2 separate regions of the Homo sapiens genome follow, and region 1 is linked to region 2. The links are contacts of gene promoters, found by promoter capture Hi-C in blood cells and fetal thymus (Javierre and others, 2016). All regions are on one chromosome and are shown on one strand. Each heading gives the region's core, a stretch centred on a gene start or on the middle of the fragment in contact. The rest is flanking DNA. Distances are from core to core; before and after follow the strand shown.

Region 1 (6,776 bases), core at 1,437-3,936, 46 kb after region 2:
CGCCCGCCTCTGCGTGCAAGCCTGGCCGGGACCCAGGCGCAGCTCGCTCTTCTTGAGTGTCTTGTCTTGCTCACTCAGCCCGCCCGCGCGGCCGCCCGACCCCGCGCGCCTAGGTCAGGCCAGCCAGCAGCGTGGCCCGCGTAGCTCCTTCGGCCGAATGAGCGCTGCCCGGCTCGCGGCCGGGAATAAGGCTCCAGGAGGCGCGGAAGCTCCGCCCCGCCCGGCGCCGCCCCCTCCCTCCTCCCGTGCTGGGAAGCTCGCCCGGCTCGCGGCGCCGGCAGCGCAGCCCCCGACCCCGCGGGCGCGGCGGAGGACTGGGCGGGAGGAGAGGGCGGCGTTCACAATTTTTGGGACCAGGCCGAGGCAGCCGCGGCCTGATTGTGGGTAGGGCTACTGACCGGCAGGTGGCGGAGAGCGGTTCCTACCTTTCCCCAAACGCCTGTCACTCTGCAGCCTTGTGACTGACTGCTGAGCTGAGTTCTGTTCCGGGCCTGGCCTCTTGCTTCATCTAAGCCCCATACCAGGGGTCTCCATCCCTGTCACCCTCTAAGTTTCAGAAGCCCACCTTTTGGCCTACCAACACGGCAAGTATCAAATAATAATTAATTCATCTATCATTTAAAAATTAGACACGTGAATGCCAGCCGTTCTCATAAACCCGAGATAACCAGAGTTGAAGTTGCAGGCACTTAGTATCAATCCAGCAAAAGCAAAGGAAGTTAGTACTCTCTTAGTCTCTGGAGTGGCTTCCTCCCATCTTCCCTCAGGGGACATTAGGATTTTTGAACTATGGGTTGTAATTCCCAGGCTTCTGAGATTGGAGAGACACAGGTTGTGAAACAAGCCTTATTCTTTTCCTTGCCTTTGACTGCCACCTTTTTCCTCAACATAAAAAATGAGCCACCCTCCCATAGGACCCAGCTGGCTAACCTAGATTGCTGTTTCACAGACACTAGGTGTTTCTCTTCCAACCCATGTGCTTTTGCAGGGGTCTTCTGGAGTCACTGTCCTGACCCAAAGAAATGAGTGTCTCAGTAGGTATTTCAGTTTCCAGGGACGTGCTGGGGAGAGAGTTGTTTGACACAGGGCTGGGTTGGCTTTCAGAGCCCTGAAATTGTGCCAGATAGAGCACTTGCCGGATTCTGCCTGTGTGTAGGGATAAAAACAGGCCTGCTATTTATACACAGTCTATCCCACTGTCCCTCCCTATCCCCACCTTTGCAGGGGTCAGTCTGGCCCTGCCCTCTTAACTTGCTCCAGTAACCTAGGCCTAGGTTTCCATAGTGCACTGGAATCACTACAGACCTGAGTTTGAATCCTGCCTTTGCTACTTACTGTGTGACCTTGGACAAGAAACTTAATTTCACTGAGCCTCAGTTTTGACGTCTCTCAAATGGAAAAAATAATAACAATAATAATAATGACTACTTTGTAGGGAGCTTTTTGAGAAATGAATGCGGGAACACATAAAAGTAGTTAGTATAGTGCCAGGCACACTATAAGCTCTCAATAAATGTGACCCATTATTATTGTTGCTGTTAATAATAATCACTAAGCACTTGACCACTCTATTTCCTTAGAGGCCTCTTTTCTCTCACTTCTCTAGATCGCTTGCCTTCCCCTAGGCCATATCTGAGGCTTTATGATATAGTTGGGCTGGTTTCAGACAGAAGCTCACCTGTCACCTATTTGGCTAAGAGCCACTGTTAGATTATCCTTTTGGGTGATGAGTATCGGGCCTAGGACCTCAGTGCATGGTCACCGCCCAAGCCATGACTTTGCCCTCCCTCAGCAGCTGCCTGGCCACCTGCTTCCCCAAAACAAAGCCACCTTGGGGTCAAGGCTCTCCCCAGGGGAGGGTGGAGAGAAACACTTCCTGACACATGGTCAAATCACCCCCTTTCCCCCACCCTCGCCAGAGTCACACCCTGCTCTCTTGCCCCAGCCTGCCTTTCTCCCTTCACATGCTCTGTCCTTCCGCCTTCTCACCCCCACATCAGCCTCAGTCCCATTCATGGGGCAACTCCAAACTTTCATCACACCTGGAGCCTCACCCCAGCTAGGTTTGTGTGTCAGCCAGGTTTTACAGGAAGGGCCTGAAAAAAGAAGATAAAAAGCTTGAATTGGATTTGGGACAGTCACTTCCCCTCTCAGAATCTTGGATGTCTCTGAGCAAAGAAAAGGAATCACAATTCATGCTGAGGCAATCTCATTAACTCAATTATATCATAAACATTAACTGAACATTTTTGGGGGGCACTGGGGACATAGAAATAAATAAGACAGCCCAGGACCTGCTTTCACAGAGCTTATATTCTATAGTAGACAGGCAGCACATTAAGGAAATAAACAAGGAAAAACATATCCTATAGTGATAACTGCTAAGATGAAAGTTAAAATACAATGATGTGCTGTAGGATAATATGTTCCAGTGCCCAGGATGACACTTTAAACTGATTAGCAAAGCCTTCTCTGAGCAGGTGACATGTAAGCTGAGGCCTGAATGAGAAGAAGAAATCAGATTTGGGATCATCTATGACAAAAGCATTCCAAGATGTGCAAATAGTGCAAAGACTCTGAAATGGAAAAAAGTTGGGAGCATTCAAGGAAAAGCAAGAGGGCCAAAAAAGGAGAGATATGGGATGATATTGGAACAAAGGCTAGCAACAGATAAAAGAGGACGTTATAAGCCAAGGTAGACACTGGATTTTATGCCCCATTATTGTCAGAATCATATGAGATGTCAATGAGACAGCACTGTCATGCAGGATTCCTCCATATTGTCCCCTCCTCCTGCTCAGGTCTCCCCCACCTGCTCTCTGGATGTCAGGTTGTCAAATGCCAGGAACATAGTCCTAAGGAAGTAGAGTTCAGACAGACAAGCCTGCTTTTATTGACTGTCTATTGACCATGAGCAAACTGAGGCTTGGAGACTGATTAGCCCTGGGCCACCAGTGAGTCAGAAGGGGGCAAGTGCAGAGCAGAAACCCTGGCATCCTGCTTCCCAGCCCATGCGAGTTTCCTGGGCCTCTGGAAAGGCAGGCTCCATGGGACTCTGAGTGCTGCTGACTCACTGCTAGGCCAGAGTTCTTGATTTGGAGAGAGCACTTGCTCCCCAGTGGGGAGGACCTGGAAGAAAGCGGTGCTAGTGGTGACAATTCCCCTGTAATCAACACTGCACATGCATTATCTTGCTTGATCCTCACAACATCCCCCAAACTAGACACTGTTATCATCATCTGCATTTTAAAGGATTGAAGCTTTAAAAGGTAACATCCCAAGGTCACCCAGCTAGTGAGTGTCTCAGCCTCAATTTGAAACCCCCTCGTTCACTTGGGCTTGTGCTCTCCTAAGCTCAACACTCAAATGGATGAGACGACAGCCGCCATCTCTATGCTTCTGTGGAGGGTAACATTATCAGTTTTACTGAGTTTCAGTCCTTCATCTGTTCTGAGGGATAATAAGAAACTCTGGCTCACTAGACTGGAAGGATGCTTAGGTAAGCACAGCAGGGCAGCTAATGAAATGGATACAGTCTTGGGAGTCAGATACTTGGGGGTTCAAATTTTGTTGGTTTTTTTTTCTTTCTAACTTTGAACATGTTATTCAATTTCTCTTACCTACAGTTTGCTCACCTGAAAAGTGGGGACAATAATAGTAGTTATTATTATAGGGCTTTTGTGATGATTCAGTCAGATCATGTGTATAAAGCGGAATATGATGCCTGGCACATAGTAGGTACTTACTCAATGACAGCGGTTATTATGACCAAATTTTTTTCTTGCTTTCTTTCCTTTTTCTTTTTAAGTGGGAACTTGAATAAAATGTTGGTTTATCATGAGCTAGCCATCCTCAGAGATGAAGTGTTCCTTTCTGGGAGATGGCCATGCTTATCAAAGAGATGCTAGATCTGCAAGGCCACCCAGAGTTTTGGAAACCTCAACCCAAAAAAGCAACTCAGGCTCAGAGGTCAGAGGGAAGCTGTGCCCCCTGGGGGAGAGGATTCAGCTGCCTTCTCATTCCCCTCTGACCAGAAGTGAATCCTGCACAGCCCTTGAACTCTGCTGCGTTGGGGAGAGGGGTAAAGAAGGGCACCTCCATTAAGGGTAGGTCTGACCATGAGCCCAGAGTTACCCAAACTTGGAATGTCAGGATGAGGGGTCATTGCTTCTTGGCCCAGGCTGGCTTCTCTCACCCCATCTGAGACAGTTAATCAAACAGTTTGGGCATACAGCTGGATTAGATTAGAATTCAGGCCTGCCCTTTGGAGCCCCCGTGTACCTTCTTATGCTGGCTGGGCACCTGGAAGTAGCGTGCTTCATGCATATTCAGGGATGAACAGGCTCTGCTGTCTGATTGTTTGGGGCTAGGATCTATTTGAATAGGATGAAGGATAGGAATGGATGAGATAGGGGGAGGCTTTTGGAGGTGAGGGGGTTTCAGGAATCCCTGTCATCTCCAGAAGATGTTGAGGAAGGAATATTTATAATGTGCTGGATCCCAAACCATCCTTCTCTATTTCTGGTCCCATTTTTGTGACTTTGAATGATTAACATCTCCAGACCAAGGACTTTGCCCCTACAGCCATCCCCTCTGTGTTGGCCAGCACAGAGAGAAAGTGATTCCTCCCTCATTACACACCCATCTCTCTCTTCAAGCCTCAGATTCCTCAAGTGAAAAATGAGAACTTGAAACAATTACCCTGCATTCAGGCACCGGCCAGTATGTCCATCATGAATTATTTGCTGTCATGTTGCTGTCAAAAGACTTGAGGAGGCTGGGCGCGGTGGCTCATGCCTGTAATCCCAGCCCTTTGGGAGGCTGAGGTGGGCAAATCACCTGAGGTCAGGAGTTCGAGACCAGCCTGGCCAACATGGCAAAACCCTGTCTCTATTTATTAGTACAAAAATTAGCCGAGCGTTGTGGCAGGCACCTGTTATCCCAGCTACTCAGGAGGCTGAGGCAGGAGAATCACTTGAGCCTGGGAGGTGCAGGTTGCGGTGAGCTGTGATGGCACCACTGCACTCTAGACTGGGCGACAAAGCAAGACTCCGTCTCAAAAAAAAAAAAAAAAAAAAGACTTGGGGAGACAATTCTATAACAATTGACAGTGCCTGATTTACAGGATGTGATAACCTTTCTCTCTGTGTCTCAGCTTCTTCGTCTATAAGTGGGGAGAATAACAATCTACTTAGGAGGTTCTTGTGACAACTGAAGGAGATAGCATCTCTGAAGTGCTTGGCAAAATGAAAAGCCCTATATAAATACGTCAGAGCTCCTGTTAACTTTTCTGGTGCTTAACCTTGGAATGTGGTCACATCACATTCTGTACCAGGAATGTACAAGTTCGGTTACTCTTAGAAATGCAGTTGCAGGTCTGCAATTTAACAATTTCACATTATCCATTTGCTCGTTTTTTTAACTAAGGGTTGGTCTAAGACAATGGTTCGCAAAGAAAGAGATACTGCCCCCTAGGGGACATTTCAGGAATTTAGTTGTCACTGACTGGGGAGTCCTCAGGCATTTGGGAGAAAAAGGGGTCAGGAAATTACCTGACTGCTTTTGAGTGTCCTACCAAACACATATCGGTAAAAAGCTTGGTTGTAATAACTTGAGCCTAGAATCATCTCTAATTTACACAAAAATATAACAAGAGTTTTTGCAATGACTTCCAGGAATGAAATTAGTGTGAGTTGTTCATTTTGGTGATATCTGAGCTACCAATACAATGCACCTGTTATCAGGCAGTATTTATAGCTGTGACATTCAAGGTAAATCTGTGTGATTGTAATCAATGGGCTACTTCATTGAGATTTCTGAGTAGTTGTTAGCAGGCATTTGCCAATTGAAATAATGTTATTTTAAAAATCATTTTATCTTTTATATTAATTACGGTTTTTTAAATTATTTTGTAGAGAGAGGGTCTTGCTCTGTTGCCCAGGCTGGGATGCAGTAGCACCATCATGGCTCACTGCAGCCTCAATCTCCTGGGTTCAAGCGATCCTCCTGCCCCAGCCTCCTAAGTAGCTAGGACTATAGGCATGCACCACCACACTCAGCTAATTTTTAATTTTTTGTAGAGATAGGGTCTCACTATTTTGCCTAGGCTGGTCTGAAACTCCTGGGCTCAAGCAATCCTTCTGCCTTGGCCTCCCAAATTGTTGGGATTAAAGGTGTGAGCCACCACACCCAGCCAGTATTAATTTCTTTAGAGTAAATGTACAGATAGGATATTATCTTTAAACTTCATTTCAGGATAGTAAAGGGGTGTTAACATTATTTGTCATAAAAAAATGAAATATTGATTCTGAAAGGATTGAGAACCACGGACACAAGAGATACTCACATGAAAAGCCTTTCTATGGCTGGGTGTGGTGGCTCATGTCTATAATCTCAATACTTTGGGAGGCCGAGGTGGGAGGATCACTTGAACTCAGGAGTTCAAGACCAGCCTAGGCAACATAGTGGGACCCTCCCTCTACAAAAAAGACAAAAATTAGCTGGGCATGGTGGCATGCACCTGTAGTCCCAACTACGCTGAGGTAGGAGGATTGCTTAAGCTCAGGAGATGGAAGTTGAGGCTGCTGTGAGCCATGATCGTGTCACTGTACTTCCAGCCTGGGCTACAGAGCAAGACTGTGTCTAAAAGAACAACAACAAAAAAAGCTTTTCTATATATCCTTTGTAAAAGTGCTCTTCCAGATACTATTCCATATAAGGTCCCATGTAATAAATTCCTCTGGTAATGTAGTCTTGACTATCATGGCTATCTGGTA
Region 2 (6,772 bases), core at 3,223-5,722:
GTGAAATGTACGAAGTTAATAATGTATTAATTAGAACAAACAAAAGTAAAATAATTTACTAGATTTCTCACATGTGAGTTGTCCTCCTATTAGAACAATGCATGACACTTAGAATGAGTGTATTTTTTACTTTTTTTTTTTTTGAGGCAGAGTTTCACTCTTGTTGCCCAGGCTGGAGTGTAATGGCGCAATCTCGGCTCACTGCAACCTCCACCTCCTGGGTTCGAGCAGTTCTCCTGCCTCAGTCTCGTAACTGGGATTACAGGTGTGCGCCACCATGCCTCGCTAATTTTTGTATTTTTAGTAGAGATGGGGTTTCACCATGTTGGCCAGGCTGGTCTCAAACCCCTAACCTCAGGGGATCCACCCACCTTGGCCTCCTGCAGTGCTGAGATTACAGGCATGAGCCACTATGCCTGGCCAGAATGAGTGTATTTAAATGACAATTGAATTTTTATTTTTATTTTACAACACTGATCAGACATCTGAAAGATTTATGATTTGTATCACTCCTAATAAATTAAGCAGGGAAGAGGAGGTTAAAACTGCACCTACTTAAATAAATCTTCTTCACATACAATATAATATTGCTATAAACATTTTCCATGACAAATCATTTTTATTACTGAACTTACACTTAAGTACCTAATCATAGACAGAACAGGAAAGTAAGCACTTAAGAAATGTACTTTGAGGCCAGGGGCGGTGGCTCACGCCTGTAATCCCAGCACTGTGGGAGGCCAAGGCGGGCGGATCAAGAGGAGAGATTGAGACCATCCTGGCCAACACGGTAAAACCCCATTTCTACTAAAAATACAAAAATTAGCCGGGCATGGTAGCATGCGCCTGTAGTCCCAGCTACTCAGGAGGCTGAGGCAGAATTGTTTGAACCCAAGAGGCGGAGGTTGCAGTGAGCCAGAATCACACCACTGCACTCTAGCCTGGCAACAGAGCGAGACTCTGTCTCAAAAAAAAAAAAAAAATGTACTTTAAAGTCTAAACTTAAACACTTTAATTAATCTACCTGAAGTTCAGCTCCTCATTTTAAAAAAAGAAAGCATTTAATTAGATAATCTTTAAAGTTATTTCTAAGATACTTTAACCTGCCGGGTGTGGTGACTCATATCTGTAATCCAGCACTTTGGGAGGCTGAGGTGGGCGGATCAGGAGGTCAGGAGTTCCAGACCATCCTGGCAAATATGGTAAAACCCCGTCTCTACTAAAAACACAAAAATTAGCAGGGCGTGGTGGCAAGCGCCCGTAATCCCAGTCACTCAGGAGGCTGAAGCAGGGGAATCGCTTGAACCCAGGAGACGGAGATTGCAGTGAGCCAAGATCGGGCCATTGCACTCCAGCCTGGGCGATATAGCGAAAACTCCGTCTCAAAAAGAAAAAGATACTTACTTTAAACCAAAGTTTCTTTTGTTTTGAGACAGAGTCTAGCTCTGCTGCCCAGGCTGGAGTGCAGTGGCATGATTTCGGCTCACTGCAACCTCCACCTCCGGGGTTCAAGCGACTCTCCTGCCTCAGCCTCCCAAGTAGCCAAGACTACAGGCAAGTGCCACCATGCTCAGCTAATCTTTGTATTTGTGGTAGATACAGGGTTCCACCATACTGGCCAACAGGCTGCCCTCAAGTGATCCACTCGCCTCGACCTCCCAAAGTGCCAGGATTACAGGCATGAGCCACCACTCCTGGCCTAACCCAAGTTTTAAGATGAACAAATTCTATTTAACTCGGACAAAAGCACTCCCAAAATAACTCCATTAAGGACACATTTTACTTACATTCTTCCTACACCTTCATACATGTTAGTCTCATCTACCAAAGTCATGATCTCTGTATCTGTAAGATGTGCATGCTTTTTCGTTCTGTTTAGCTGTTCAATCTGTATGTCTGCGAGCTTCACCTTCTGTTGAGTGTCAATAACTTTGGCTTGAAGCTCTGTGAAGGCCTAATAAAAACAAGTCCATGATTTAGTAGGTAAAACATTTTACAGGAAACATTTACCTCAAATCCAAATATATTAAAACAAAATATGCTAGCCAGAGACAAAGCTGTGAAATTTACCAAACATCAATAAAAGTCAACATAACTGTAAACAATCAAGTCACCATACTAAATACTGAATTTACAATCATCAGAAGATACAATCAGTGTGAAGCAAATCAAATGCATATTAAGTAATAACCATATTAAGTAGCAAGTACTCAAGGAGTAGTAAAAGAAATAAATGCAATAGTCAAGGATGAAATCCAGAGATTCAAAACAAGAACCATAAAAGTAATAACTCACTACATTTGTATTGCACAATTAGGTTTCAAAGCACTTTCTCACATTAGTTTGAAATATTAACATGGGAATATTAATATAAGAATATTAATGAGGAAATATAATAAATATCTCATTTATGCCTCTCAGTAATTCCATGAGTTAGCATTGGCAGTCTCATCATCCACAATTTACAAATTAAGTAACCAAATGAGTTAAGAGATAAAAGTGGCTTGCACAAGGTTGAACAACTACTGGGGGGAAGGCAGGTGTTATTTAAATCCATTTCTTCTAACCCCTTAGTTCAGCAATCTTTCCATTCCACTGTCTATAGTAATATTCATAATATGAACATTTTTAAGAGGAAGACCAAGAAAGAGAGTGAGAAAAAATGCAAAGCACTGGCAAAAGAATTGCATCATGATCTTCATCCACAGATACCAGGCCAAATTTGACCCTTGCGTACACTTACTTAACTGGAAGATAAACAGTTCTTGGATACTTTTGTTGAAGTGCCTGGAATGACTTTCACATGCTGTTAAATTTGTGCCTTAATAACATCTGTGACTGCAATGCACAGCAAAGGCTACTACATAATTTTTATTGTGACCTTGTTTTCACCTACTAGTAAGGTTTTGAAAGATTTACTTTGGGGAAGGGGAGGGGCCTGAAATTTCCTATTTGTCTCCACCCAAAAAAAGGACCCTGTAAAAACATTAGAAGATAAAACCTTTAAACAAGTTTTTTAATTAATTGGTTATCAAAATTATTCATTTTAAGTTTGTAATCATTTTCTTAGTTTGCATTCACCGCCCGCAAGTTTCAAATGTAGCAATAAATTCAAAAGTACCGGGAGGCAAATCCATTCACTAAACCCTGATTTAAATCGGTACTTTTAACAGAAGAAAAGGTAAATTTTTAGAATGCACAATTTTGTTTTGAAATGTAAAATTCCAGGTATCATCTGACTGCTCTATACAGCTTGCTAAGGAAGCTAGTATACCATTAAAGATGAGCTAGTATACTGTTAAAGATTAGAGACTCCACCTAAGAGCTAAATTTACAAGATTCAAGACAAGAAGAACAAAAGCAAGACACAAACACATAATATCCTCACAACACTAACAAAAGCTTCATTTGTTAGAAGCAACAGCTATTTCGGCTGTCCTATTTCTTTTACACAAGTTGACCACAGGCAGTCTTAACTAAGATGTTGCTCATCTGAAGAACTCAAAATAGTGGTCAAAAAAGTGTGAGATAAGGCAGAGAATACTGGATTCTAGTCCCAACTTCTGACAGACTTTTCTGGCACTGGTTCCTTTTCCAGAAAAGTAGATTTAAAATAGATAAATTCTAGGGTCCTTTCCAATCCACCCCACCGCACAAAGCATACTGGTTTGGGGTCATTAGTGGTGTTAGAATGCTGATCATTCTTAGATAGCAAAAATCTGAATAACAACACATTTATAAGCAACTGAGGAAAACAGGAAACCCAATTCCTTCCGATACCGGTTTTATTTGGAAAACTTTACTGGTTTTGTTTTGTTTTTGACAATTCCTTCAAAAGAAGGAGGTTTTGTTTTGTTTTGTTTGACGAGTCCTTCAAAAGAAGTGGAGGGGGGGCAAAATCCTGAAATGAACATTGCTGCTACAATGCTTGGTTTTCCGAACTGTAGATATTGCAACTTTCAAGGTACAGAACCGAATAAATGGCCTAAAAACAAAGGTTGGACTTGGAGTTTTTCAAAGCAAATGAGGCAGAATTACGGATGCCACAGCTCAGGCAAGGGGTCCGAAGGGACCCCCATTTGAAATGCTCTCTTTAGTTCTTACTATGAAAGTGAGTCCCTGAAGCCTCCAAACGCAACGAAATGTCTCTGGAGCTCAGAAAGACTGGACAAGCCCGAGACAGGCCCGCAGACTTACCCGACCCAGACCAACCGGCTCCTACCCAGCAAGAGCCGCTCGCCCCCCACCCCGTTTATGGAGACCCAGTGAGGCCTTAGGACTCTGGGAAACCATTCCCTAGTCCACTGGACCCTCCTTCCTTCTGCAAGGCTCGTGCCTCACTTGATATTCTTGTCTATAGTCCCCTCAGCCTCCAAAAAGAAGACCTCCGCCTGCCAAAGACCCTCTTTTACCTTCTTCAGCTCTAGATCCACGGGGGCGGCCATCTTGGTGCACTGTAAGCGCCTGCGCAGTGGGAGTTGGACTGAAATAGGGTGGGGAAGGGCGCGTCTTACTTTGTGCGCCGGTCTTTCTTCTGCGCCTGCGCATGAGTTGGACTAACCGGGCTTCTTATCTTTCTCTGAGAATTGACTCCTGAAATATTTGGGTTTCGGATTCCGTGTCTTCACTACCTGACCGGTCAGGTCTGGCTTGCTCCTCCGTATCTTCCAGACATAGCCCAACGCGCAGATTTCCCATGTGGCTTTAAGCAGTTTGCCAGCTAGCTTAATATGTGCTGCTAAATTGAGATGTATGTAGATGAGGTCAAACCCTCATCAGTCGATCAGTCCTTCAGCTAGTCGCTGTGCTCTCAGGAATGAGTAAGAGTAAGTCCAGAACCTCAGGCATGACAGTTTGGGAAAGACTATTGGAAAGCTTGTCTGGAGTGTTCTTTCCAAAACGAACTTATTACTTCCAAAAGCTTCCCAAAGACATTCTAGGCACAGTGGTTCTCAAGAGAGGCTGAATACGTTTGTTTAAAAACAAAAAAATGCAGGTTCTCTGGGTCTCATCTCAAACGTACTCAGAATCTTTGAGAATGGGGTCTGGAAATTTGCACTTTTGCAGACTACCCCAGTGACCTAATGGTGCAACTCCTCCGCGGATCACTTTTTTGAGAATCTCTGCCATAAAAGGACCTGGCATTTGAACCAGAATAGATAATAATTGACTTTTGGAAATGGAAAAAAAAGTTAACCTACTCTAAAAACTGTTATGCTAAGAGAAAGTGCTACATAAATAATTAGGAAATTTATTTTATTTTTTAAAAAAAGAAAGAAAGAGAGAAAGAAAACAAACTGTTAGGGAGATGAAAGGGCAGGGAATTTGGAACCAGCCTAATCTAGATTCAAGGCTTGGTCTGCCTTTAGCCTATGTCTGGTTCCATTTACTAATTGTGTGACTTTAAGCAAGTCACTTGGATATTTTGTGGGGTTTTTTTTTTTTTTTGTACGTTTGTTTGTTTCTTGAGACAGGATCTTGCTCTGTCACCCAGGCTCGAGTGCAATGGTGCAATCACGACTCACTCCAGCCTCTACCTCCCGCGCTCAAGCGATCCTCCCACCTCAGCCTCGTGAGTAGCGCTGGGACTACAGGCGCGCGCCACCCACACTCAGCTAATTTTTATATTTTTGTACAGACGGGTTTTCACCTTGTTGCCCAAGCTGGTCTCAAACTCCTGAGCTCAAACAATCCGCTCGCCTTGGTCGCCCAAAGTGCTGTAGTGCTTTGATATTAAAGGCTTGAGCCACCGCACCCGGCCACATTTTTTTTTTTTTTTTTTTTTTGAGCCAGGGTCTCGCTCTGTCACCCAGGCTGGAATGCAGTGGCACGATCTCGGCTCACTGCAACCTCTGCCTCCCAGGATCAAGTGATTCTCCTGCCTCAGCCTCCCGAGTAGCTGGGATTACAGGCGCCTGCCACCACGCCCGGCTAATTTTTGTAGTTTTGGTAGAGACGGGTTTCACCGTGTTGCCCAGGCTGGTCTCCAACTCCCAGCCTCAAGTGATCCGCCTGCCTCGGCCTCCCAAAGGGCTGGGATTACAGGCAAGCCACCACGTCCAGCATCTGCCACCTATTTTTAATGAGCTTCAGTCTTCTCATGTTTGAGAGTGACCATATTGACCTAACAGGGTTATTGTGAGAAATAAATGAGATCAGGATAAAAAGCTCCAAACATAGCTCCATGCACACAAGTAGATACTCAATAAATCACTGGTGTTAATCGCCGTCCTGTTTGTCTTTCAAAGTCCAGCAAATGGGCACTACATCCCCCATCACACAGAGCAAAGATAATCTCTCCTCTGAACTCCCCTCACAACATCTATTTCTCTCTCAAGGCATATAACACTGTCTACCTTTTTTTAGAAAACATTTTTCTTAGACTGTAAGCTCCTTGAAATCAAGAACTATGGAATAATGGTTCTTCCACCTCTTGTACCTAGAACACCTGTCACAGTGCATCACGGGAAAAAAATACAAAATGGATACTGGATGTGAATAAATTATTCTGGAAAAAAAAAAGAAGACTCATTCCTCCCCAATTTGAGAAAGAGTAAAAAGGATCTGATATTTTGATTCTCTGGGACCTTCTTAGATTCTCATTACAGATGATCAATAAATACTGACTGATTAGCCAGGCATGGTGGCATGCCCCTGTAGTCCCAGCTACTCAGGAGGCTGAGGCAGGAGAATTGTGTGAGGCCTGGAGGCCAAGGCTGCAGTGAGTGGGGATCAATTGTGTCATTGCACTCCAGCCTGAAAGACAGAGTGA

The links. Contacts are between HindIII fragments. The CHiCAGO score rates a contact against its expected background, and 5 or more counts as called.
Region 1: a fragment that was not itself captured here is called in contact with the fragment with the promoter of PFDN1 in region 2 in 11 of 17 cell types (monocytes, megakaryocytes, M2 macrophages and 8 more); the score reaches 14.8 in monocytes.

The regions. Positions count from the first base shown.
Region 1 is chr5:140,346,445-140,353,220 of GRCh38, forward strand. It overlaps HBEGF (heparin binding EGF like growth factor), which reads right to left and starts at 159. Exons shown (of 6, transcript NM_001945.3): 1 at 1-159. RefSeq lists silencers at 74-353, 394-443. The HindIII fragment of the contact is 1,143 bases long and covers 2,116-3,258 here.
Region 2 is chr5:140,298,629-140,305,400 of GRCh38, forward strand. It overlaps PFDN1 (prefoldin subunit 1), which reads right to left and starts at 4,473. Exons shown (of 4, transcript NM_002622.5): 1 at 4,413-4,473; 2 at 1,788-1,954. The coding sequence starts at 4,445. RefSeq lists enhancers at 302-818, 4,210-4,489 and a silencer at 4,378-4,582. The HindIII fragment of the contact is 1,473 bases long and covers 3,401-4,873 here.